Linked DNA regions of Homo sapiens: region 1 is linked to region 2. Evidence: promoter capture Hi-C in 16 types of primary human blood cells and fetal thymus (Javierre and others, 2016). All regions are on one chromosome and are shown on one strand. The core of a region is centred on a gene start or on the middle of the fragment in contact, and the rest is flanking DNA. Distances in the headings are between cores, read along the strand shown.

What was found. The method cuts DNA at HindIII sites, captures the fragments that hold promoters and counts their contacts. A CHiCAGO score of 5 or more calls a contact.
Region 1: a fragment that was not itself captured here is called in contact with the fragment with the promoter of WASHC5-AS1 in region 2 in 3 of 17 cell types (erythroblasts, M2 macrophages and megakaryocytes); the score reaches 8.9 in erythroblasts.

Annotation. Positions count from the first base shown.
Region 1 is chr8:124,601,546-124,606,890 of GRCh38, forward strand. The region is part of intron 3 of MTSS1 (MTSS I-BAR domain containing 1); the gene reads right to left. LOC124902016 (a long non-coding RNA gene) reads left to right here and starts at 5,192. Exons shown (of 2, transcript XR_007061088.1): 1 at 5,192-5,345. RefSeq lists an enhancer at 3,811-3,880. The HindIII fragment of the contact is 1,755 bases long and covers 1,040-2,794 here.
Region 2 is chr8:125,038,092-125,043,449 of GRCh38, forward strand. WASHC5-AS1 (WASHC5 antisense RNA 1) reads left to right here and starts at 2,593. Exons shown (of 2, transcript NR_170219.1): 1 at 2,593-2,688. It overlaps WASHC5 (WASH complex subunit 5), which reads right to left. Exons shown (of 29, transcript NM_014846.4): 24 at 1,704-1,807; 25 at 739-868. The HindIII fragment of the contact is 6,314 bases long and covers 1-4,024 here.

The sequences.
Region 1 (5,345 bases), core at 667-3,166, 440 kb before region 2:
CTATATGAGAAAATAGTCTCTCCTTCCTCTCAAGCCCCTGCTCTCAGAGAGCCCAGAAGTCCTAAATTGGCAGGGGTCTTTTCACCTTGACGGCGGGCTGGAGGACTGCCCGGGTGTTGCATCACAGAAGTTGCCTCAGCGTGCATCACTGCCACTCTGGCTGGACCGAGCAGGGCAAGGCTGGGTACACCATCTGCTGCCCCGGGGGATGCCTGGAGGCCAGCACTAGCCACGGCTACACAGCTCTGCACACACGCACACACGAGCGTCAGACTTGACCATGAAGCTGGGCACTCCTCTTCTGCAATCGCACTGGCATGTTTCAGGATTTTTTTATTTTATAAGGTGAAGTGACAGAACACAGTCTTCAAAGGAAAGTAAGAGTGTTTCCAAATGGCATCAGAGTGTGAACCTGAATTCTAATAAGAGAAGAGGAAGCTCAATTCTTAGGCCTGGAAAAGTTCAATCATGATGCCCTAGCTAAGACAATGCTTTACCCAAAGATTTCGACCAGGTGTGTCCAATCTTTTGGCTTCCCTGGGCCACAGTGGAAGAGGAATTGTCTTGGGCCACATATAAAATACACTAACACAAACAACAGCTACTAAAAAAAAAAAATCACAAATAAATCTCATATATATACATATATATATATATATATAATTTTTTTTTGAGACACGGTCTCACTCTGTCATCCAGGCTGGAGTGCAGTGGTGTGATCACGGCTCACTGCAACCTCCGCCTCCTGGGTGCAAGCAATCCTCCCACCTCAGCCTCCCAAACAGCTGGGGCTACAAGTGTGCACTACTACACCTGGCTAAGTTTTGTATTTTTAGTAGAGATGGGGTTTCGCCATGTTGGCCAGGCTAGTCTTGAACTCCTGGCCTCAAGTGATTCCCCCACCTCGACCTCCCAAAGTGCTAGGATTACAGATGTGAGCCACCATGCCCGGCCTCATAATGGTTTAAGAAAGCTCACAAATTTGTGTTGGGCTGCATTCAAAGCCATCCTGAGCCATGTGAGGCCTGCAGGTTGAACAAGCTTGATCTAGACCAAGGGGCAAAACCCAAAAGGCTAGTAGGTGGACAACTATAACCCAGACCAACAAAATAACTGATCAGTAAGGAAGCTCCAGGCAAGGGGCTAGCCAGACCTCGGCTAGAGGTGGGTACATCAGCCTGGGGGTCTATAAGGTGGATCTCTTAGGTGATCTCCAGGTTAGACTGGATGACCCCTCTTCCTGGCAACCAAGATGCTGGAGTGGAGAAAGGACAGTGTTCCTGTAGTCAACAAATTTTTAGGAAATGTTACCTTGGTCTAATTATTGTGCTACGAAGTAAAGAGACAGCCGCCTGCCCCCATAGAGTGGGCATCTCCTGTAATTGGAAATGACGGATCGTCATGGTAACCTTAGAGCTGGAAGGTGCCTTAGAAAACTCACAAAGCAACAAACCAGCAGTTCCTTGCTGTTGGGCATCCCACTCTTTTTGTTCTTTCTGAGATGTAGTCTTGCTCTGTTGCCCAGGCTGGAGTGCAGTGGCACCATCTCAGCTCACCACAACCTACACCTCCCGGGTTCAAGCAATTCTCCTGCCTCAGCCTCCCAAGTATCTGGGATTACAGGCGTGCGCCACCACTCCTGGCTAATTTTTGTATTTTTAGTAGAGATGAGGTTTCACCATGTTGGCTAGGCTGGTCTCGAACTCCTGACCTCAAGTGATCTGCCCGCCTCAGCCTCCCAAAGTGCTGGGATTACAGGTGTGAGCCACAGTGCCTGGCCAGGCATCCCACTCTTGCCTTTAATTAGCAGAGTGCTCCTGATGCACGCAGGACTTCCACGCTTGCTGCTGTTTCTCTTGTTCAGGGAAACTCATCCTTGTTCTTTAAGCTGCACATTTATGAGGCAGCTGGCCCCTGCCAAAAGGACCATCATTTTCATTAAAGGTCAAAGTCAGCACTCAGGATATTAAGAACTTCAAATGAACAAACTGTGTTCCTCTGGCTTCATCAGCATTTTATTTTTACCCTTGGGCATGGAGAGATGGACAACCAGAAGAAAGTGGCATCATTTGATGCCCTACATTTGTTTAACTACAGGGAGGGGAGGCAGAGAGGGAGGAAATGGAGAAGCAACCAGTTTCTGGTATCACAAGTCTTCACAGAGATCAGACTCTGTTCACACGAGACAAATATCCCCTCTCCAATCATTAGAGACCCTGGTCACACATAAGTCACTGAGCAGCGTCCTGATACCTTATGTTAGCCTTGAAAATGGCTGCAAAACACAAACTTTTTTGCCTGTGCCATTTACAAGATCATCTCAGTCGGGTGTGTCCAATCTTTTGGCTTCTCTGGGCCACATGGAAGAATTGTCTTGGGCCACACTTAAAATACACTAATGATAGCTGATGAGCTAAAAAAACAAACAGGCTGGGCATGGTGGCTCACCTAAGGTTGAGAGTTCAAGACCAGCCTGGCCAGCGTGGTGAAACCCCATCTCTACTAAAAATACAAAAAATTAGCTGGGCGTGGAGGCAGGCGCCTGTAATCCCAGCTACTCAGGAAGCTGAGGCAGGAAAATCGCTTGGACCCGGGAGGCGGAGGTTGCAGTGAGCCGAAATCAAGCCATTGCACTCCAGTCTGGGCAACAGAGTGAGACTCCATCTTAAAAATAAATAAAATAAAATAAAATAAAAGCAAAAAAAAACCGTTTCAAGAAAGTTGATGAATTTGTGTTGGGCCACATTCAAAACCATCCTGGGGCGCATGGGGCCAACAGGCCATGGGTTGGACAAGCTTGATCTAAATGTTCTTACAACAAACACACAATCTGATTTCAAGGAAACTAAGAGAAGAGAAACATTAGTCCTTTAAGCTGTGAAAATAGGTTCCTTAGGACAAAGGTAAAAGAACTTGAAAAGATATTCAAAAATAAACCCATAAAGCCCCCAAAAAAGGAAGTACAACTTCCCTTTTGCTACAATGGCAATCCTAACAACTCATTTTAATCTTCAAGGAAGAGAAAAACATGCAGAAAATTTCCTGTGTGGTTTTTTTTTTAAAAAACCTGTTTTATTCAGCTACTGTATACAGCTGAGTATGTAATGAATAACCCAGCTGGTGTTTACGGGACAGCTAATACTGCACATTCAGCAAATGCTAGGTAGGGTCAGCATCACATTTTTGGAAGACACCATTGTGCCCACACACAGGGTGGAAGACACTGCAAACTGTTATCAGATGATAATCTTCCAGCCAATCTCCCACTTCTCAGTCTCTCCCACTTCACGACTTTTCAAAAAGCAGAGGAAACAAAACCCACACACAATCCTACCACCATCTGGCGGCTTCAGACCAGCAAGCATGAGATTCTGGCATGCACCGTACTGGCAGCCACAAAGACCAATATTCCTCTTTGTTGCTGTTTTAAAAGCAAAGCGAGAATGGTAATATGGAAACACAAAAACACGGACACGCTCACACTATGGGAAAACCATATTAACAGCAAACACATTCCGACAGGGAGGCTTCCCTGTCTACGTTTTGGATGGAATGGTGTCTGGTTGCAACACCCTGTGGGGGTGTCACCTGGGAAATGCCAGCTGTCTCCCCGACATCTGCCACCATGAACCCCCCATTGCCATGGTCTGCCTCTGCTGCATGGGCACAGAAAGATGCTCCTGCTGAAGCCAGGTCTGAGCGACTCGATGACGCCAGCTCCTGCCAGCGAAGCAGCTGTGGCCTGATGCAGAAACCACATGTCATTTTCTTAGTTCACAAAATTTAACTGTCGGGTAGATAAGATGCTCACAGTATCTGGATCAGGGATTATCTCCCAGTCAGCCTTCTTGGGTTGTCAGGTAATTCAGAAGGTGGCCAGATGAATATGGAATCAGAATCAGGGAGTTAGTGTTCTAGGGATCAGAGTAAGAGCCTGCTACATCTATCCCTGACAAAGGGATGGCTCTAAGCTGGGACTCTGCGGAGACAGCCCTCGCACTGCCTCCCTCCCTGCCCTCTCGCTGCCTCCCTCCCTGCCCTCTCGCTGCCTCCCTCCCTGCCCTCGCGCTGCCTCCCTCCCTGCCCTCGCGCTGGGCTCCCGTTGGAGATCAGAACTCCCTGTGATAAACATCTATCCTTGAACCCGCTAGCACCTAAAATCAGGTTTCATGCATGTGTCACTGGCCTAAGAGCTACTTTATTCCTTTAAGAGGTTTCTGTACATCCCCAAACTATGCCAGAATATAGCGACTTTATCATCTCTTAGGAGGTAATCTTGCAGTTTTTCATATTATTAGGAATAGCTCCCATTTACTGAGTGCTTGCAACATGACAAACCCTTGCAGGAATGTTGTATTCATTTTTTTAAAATCTCATTATACTCCTCTTATAGGTACCATTATAAAGTAGGTATCTCATTTTTTTTTTTTTTTTTTTTTGAGACAGAGTCTCACTCTGTTGTCCAGGCTAGAGTGCTGGGAGTGCAGTGGTGTGATCTTGGCTCACTGCAACTTCTGCTTCCCAGGTTCAAGAGATTCTTGTGCCTCAGCCTCCCAAGTAGCTGGGACTACAGGCATGTGCCACCATGCCCAGCTAATTTTTGTGTTTTCTGTGTTTGGTTTTTTGTTTTTTTTTTTTTTTTTTGAGATAGAGTTTCACTCTTGTGGCCCAGGCTGGAGTACAATGGCATGATCTTGGCTCACTGCAACCTCTGCCTCCTGGGTTCAAGCGATTCTGGGATTACAGGCACCCACAACTACGCCCAGCTAATTTTTGTATTTTTAGTAGAGACGGGGTTTCACCGTGTTGGCCAGGCTGGTCTCAAACTCATGATCTCAAGTGATCCACCTGCCTCAGCCTCCCAAAGTGCCGGGACTACAGGCACAAGCCCCTGCACCCCGCCAAAAGTAGGTATCATTATCCTCATTTTACAGATGAGGCCAAGGGTACTCAGAGAGGTTAAGTAACTTGCCCAAGGTCACACAGAATTCAGAATTTACATCCAGGGCTGAGTCGATAGCTAGAACTTTCAACCACTCCATTCTTGGGGGCATCTCACTGTTGCCAGGACATTACCAACAGAAACATTTGGCAGATAGGGAATTAGGTTTTCTTCCCCCACCCCCGATCCTATAACTGGGAGAAAATAAGAGCCCTTCCCCCGAACATCTGTTTTATCAGCCAGATTCAAACCGTGCTGTCGCCACTTCCTCGCTCAACTGTGTACAGTTGGCCGGTCTGCATCCAAGGCCATGAGTTCAGGGTGGACATGTACTGTCAGGCTTCAGCAGGAATCACCTCCTGCCAGCTTCCTTTGGCAGGGTACACTGCTTATTCATGCAGAG
Region 2 (5,358 bases), core at 1,343-3,842:
AGGGTTAAGACAGTGCACTTGTTATGCAGTAAATATTCAAGACATTAGCTACTATTCAGGTTTATAATCTTTTATCCAAAACACAAGGGATAATACAGCTTTCAGAATTTCAAATTTTACAGATTTAGAAAGATAATATAGGGGCTGGCGTAATGCACTATAATCAAAGTTACTATAATCAAAGTCTGCATCAAAATATATGAATGTTTACAGTAAGGAGGATAAATAACTAGTATAAACAGCCTTATGTCAGCTCAGGACAGATTTTGCCATGCAAAGAGATCTGGCACCGAGTTATGAAAAAACTTTCAGTTCTTAGAGGTTTTCTGAGCTCACAACTGCAGGGAAGAGTTTGTAGCTTCTATGATGAGTGGGATTACTGTCAGCCACAAGGGGAAGCACCTTTGGCAAGACAGATCAATGCTACCATTTTGGGTTTGTTGGGCCTTGATGACTGAACGGCAAACCCCAGTGAAACCCAAAACTAATCTCTTACACGGAGGCAGCACCTTCCCCTTTGTCATGAGCTTTCACCAGCGCTATAGCACTTGATTCTCACAGACCTGAGCCAGGCGGGGAAAGTGTGATGATTGCTTAGAAAGGGCAGGGAACTGAATGGAATGAAGGCTCTGGGGTCTGAACCCAGGTTCCTCTGGTATTTCTGCACAGTAATCTGTTACCTGGGCCAAATACCATTCTGTACCCCCATCCCCGCCATTATATATTTTAATTACTCACCTTATTCAGTGGGTTGTGAATGCCAGCTGCCTCCAGATAGGCTGTGATTTCATATAAAAGTGTGTTATCTTCTTTGGGGTAAGGAAGTGAAGGGTCCTGATAGTGGGCTTCAATGTCTGCTAGGAGAGCCCTAAAGGAAGAAAAACCCTGGAGATAAACATTAGTGAGTAAATGAATTTATACAAGAGTTAATATAGGGCAGTGATGTAATCTTTTCAAGCCTCAGTTTCCTCATCTGTAAAATGAGAGCTTGATCTCGCTAATTCTCAACCATGCCTGTGATTGGTTTTAAGTGGAAAATTTGACCTAGAATTACTTCATCTTTTGGAATCAACCTCAATCAAATGCATTCACCATTCAAATTTTCATGTATTGACTGAACTGTTCTTAATACCTGCTTTGTCAAAAGCACTGACTTGGTGAGTGAGAAGCACAGATTATTTATCTGTAAGTAGGCAGCCTCAAATGACAGCAGGTTGCTGGTGAGGCGGAGGATATGAGTTCCCTCTAGGACAGGCCTCCATAACCACTCTTGGTAATCAACACACTTCCAACTGCCCTCTGGATGATGAGTGATCAGCCCTGTAAAAAGCCAGTTGCGGATTTTGGTAATAATTGCTTTCTAAAATCTGTGCAAGTATCTAGCAGTGTCTGGTGTGTCTCTCACTCGCTCTCTCTAATGAATTCATTTGTTCAGCAGACATGTATTGAATCATGTGATCAGTACCTGTCTGCTGAATACACGAATCCATTAGAGAGAGTGAGTGAGAGACAGAGATAAACGGAGGGACAATACTGAGGAAAGAGGCTCCGAAGACAGATTTGATTATCCGTGGCAAGGAAGCCTGTAAATTCAGACCTTCCACCCAAAAATAACTTAAAAGAGTAAGAACTGAAGAAACTGGGGTGCGTAGATAATAAACAATCCAAGCCCACGGATGGCTGTTTCAAACCCTGGCACTTACTTATTGAGATTCTCCAGAGCAGCTGCCAGATGTTTAGAATCAAACCGACAAGAATAATTTAATTCATTGGCAATCTGTTGTCTCAGAATCTGCATCTGCCCAACCTGTGCACAAGCAAGAGAAAGAACAGGTAGTGCATTCAAGCATTTCAGAGTGACAGTGAGGAGGTAAACACAAAGATGACAATTCTTCACTGGGCCTTCACATCACTCTACAGGAAAAAAAATAAGGATTTCCTGAACTGATCTCTTGGCTAAGACCAGCACTGGATCTAATGAAGCACCAGAGGCCCTTCAAGGAATGTCTGGATGGATTCCCATACCCCAACCTAAAAATACCCCAAAGTCTATGATTCACAAAGTGATCTATTAATGTTCAGTTGTTCATGTATCAAAGATGTCTTTTTTGAAGCTATATTTTTAACCTTTTGGAATAAGTGCTCCAAATTTAGTAGCTGCTGTGAGAAGTCTTACTTACTTCCTTTTATTTATCCTAAATGGAACTTTCTCAAGCTCTAGGAATGCCATTTCACACTAGTATTCTCAAATTGGGTGAATATTAAGTCTGTCCATGCCACTCAGGATTATAGGTTCTATAATTATCTGGATTACAAAATAATCTACATAAAATCTTTCACGAAAATTTTAACAATGATAGCCCCTTAATCCAGGGTTCTTAATTTTTTTTGTGTGTCTGATATGGTTTGGCTGTGCCCCCACCCAAATTTCATCTTGAATTGTAGTTCCCATAATCCCCATGTGTCATGGGAGGGACCCAGTGGGAGGTAATTGAATTATGGGGGTGGTTACCTCCATACTGTTCTCGTAATAGTGGATGAGTTCTCACGAGATCTGATGGTTTTATAAGAGGCTTTTCTCCTTTTGATTATATTTCTCTTTCCTGTTGCCATGTGAAGAAGGACATGTTTGCTTCCACTTCCACCATGGTTGTAAGTTTCCTGAGGCCTCCACAGCCATGCTGAACTGTGAGTCAATCGAACCTCTTTCCTTTATAAATTACCCAGTCTTGAGTATGTCTTTATTATGTGAGAATTGACTAATATAGCCTTGGACCCCTTTGGGAATCTGGTGAAGCCTATGGACACCATTTCAGAATAACGTTTTTGAATGTACAAAATAAAACATAGAGGGTAACAGTGGAAGCCAGTTGTAATGAAATATAATTAACCATTCAAAGAACAAATCTGTGATATAGAGTTATGCTAGGATGGTGTATTAACTACAGTACTTTAAAAGTAGCTATGAGCATAAATGATACTTGGAGATTATCTGCAATGGTTGGATGATAGGAAGCGATCTTTGGGTCAGGCTTGAGAGTTCAGTTTGCCCTCATAATGTTGTCTGCATCATAAGGTCAACAGCACACTCTAACTTTTTCTGCCTATAAATGTCTTCTTTTCTACTCGGACAAAGTATTCCTAAAAGACTGGCAAAGGGGAGTGAGGGAGGTGGGGAGAGGAGGGAAGACAGTATTATAATGCAAGCAGCAATAAGGTGGAAATAAATGCATTTCCTCTGAGTTGCTGGGGGCAGAGAAGAGTTAAGGAAAAGACAGGGGCTCACGCCTGCAATCCCAGCACTTTGGGAGGCCGAGGCAGGCTGATCGCTTGAGGCTAGGAGTTCGAGACCAAGCCTGGCCAAAATGGTAAAACTCTGTTTCTACTAAAAATAAAAAAATTAGCTGGGTATGGTGGTGGACACCTGTAATCCCAGATACTTGGAAGGCTGAGGTATGAGAAACACTTGAACCCAGGAGGTAGAGGTTGCAGTGAGCCAAGATTGTGCCACTGCACTCCAGCCCAGGCGACAGAGTGAGACTGTCTCAAAAAAAAAAGAAAAGGAGGGTGGCCTTCTCTAAGAATGAGCAAAAGTTACTTAGCTAAATGGAGCTTGTAATGGTCAAAAGTATTAAATGACCTCAGATGTATTATTTTTGACCACTATTCATACAAGACTATTACTCTATTTATGTGAAAAACGTCAATCCAAAAATGCTATTTATAAATAGGAAGTGTTTGAATTTATAGAGTAGCATTATTTAAAAATTAGAATGCAGCAAATCCAAGAAAATAGTAGGTTCTTTCAGGCCACATAAAAATGTCCCTGAAACCCTGTATCTGGCCCATATAATTCTTTGCTTAATTTTCTATGTGTAGTATACTCTGTGTCAAGGATCCTCTTGAAAATATCAATCTAGAACTGGAAATAGAAATAAAGTCAGTTTAATATAACTTGCTCTCGTTTACTGCACAATGAATCTTTGTTAGTGACATTTTCTATTTTTGGTACTCACGCACTTCAAGCTTTAATAAGCTGCTGAAGAGGCTAAGGAGCCTGGGATGGATGAGAAACTTATTCTACCTACTCATTTGCCTCTTTGGAGATATCTGGCTTATCACTCTTTCTCCAAGATTTTTCTAGAGTTGCACTATTGAGTACAGCAGCTCCTAGCGATGTGTGGCTATTTATATTTAAATTAATATGAAATAAAATTAAAAATTGCATTTCACTGTCCCACAACCCACATTTCATGAGCTCAATAGCTACACAGGGCTAGGAGCTGCTGTCATCATCGAATAGCACAGAACATTTCCATTGTTGTTCCAGATTATTAACACTGGCTCCGTGACTGTACGCACCCTAATTCAAGACAAAAAGACAAATTTGTCCTTTGGGGCTTTATTTAAAGATCACTGACTCGGTCACAGTCACGTGGCTGTTACTGAATTACTGGCAACTATAACCAATAGTTGGAATAGCTACTGGACTGAGAACCCTCCAGTAAGCAAGGGGAAAACCTTCCAGTTTCTTGGAAGAATCCCTGTAATCCCCCTAACGCCTCCTACAGAGTTGGGACTCACACCTGTCCAAACTCGGGTGATTCTTTATTCCTCCTAAAGGGTTTTCCAGCAATTAGAAACTTGGCCTGGGAAGCGCTTAATATCTGACAATCATGAGGCTAGGGGAAGGCAGACCCACATCACGAGAGGATATCTAGCAGAGCCATGGGCTCCTTGCCTTACCTGTTCTGTTTAATGATCCAAACAACAACAACAACAACAACCACTCACCAAAATTATGGGAAATATATTGTGAATTTGGCTAAGATACCAATGAGTGCTGTCTCAATGAGAAACTTATATAATTGGGAATCAGAGAATGGAACTTTTCAAAATTCCCTTAGCATTCTAGAATTCTAGACTTTTCTACAGTATGTGATATTTTTGACCACAAACCAGTTTTCTACCAGGAAGTCTACTCTTCCCTGCTAGATTGTGAGTTAGCTAAGGAGACCGGTCATGTTTCATTTAACTCTGTCTTTCACAGCAACTGACAATGCCCTGGGTATAATGGGTGTGCAAGAATGGGCTGTGATGATCTCAGATTATCAGATGATGAAAGAAGACTCGCAGAAGATGCAGGGGTCCCTGGGAGCTCCTACTGCCGAGTAAAGGCAGGAAACTAGGCAGCTGGATTCTAAAATAAGTTAGACTTCCATCCAGCAAATTAATCTCTTCGTCTTTCTTATTCATTTCCAAAGTAAGACTGCTTTCTGCAGAGTATAAGGATAATTTATGCCCCAAAGAACCTGGCTTCCTAACATCTATGCAGACACAAGAGGGCAGAGAGACAAT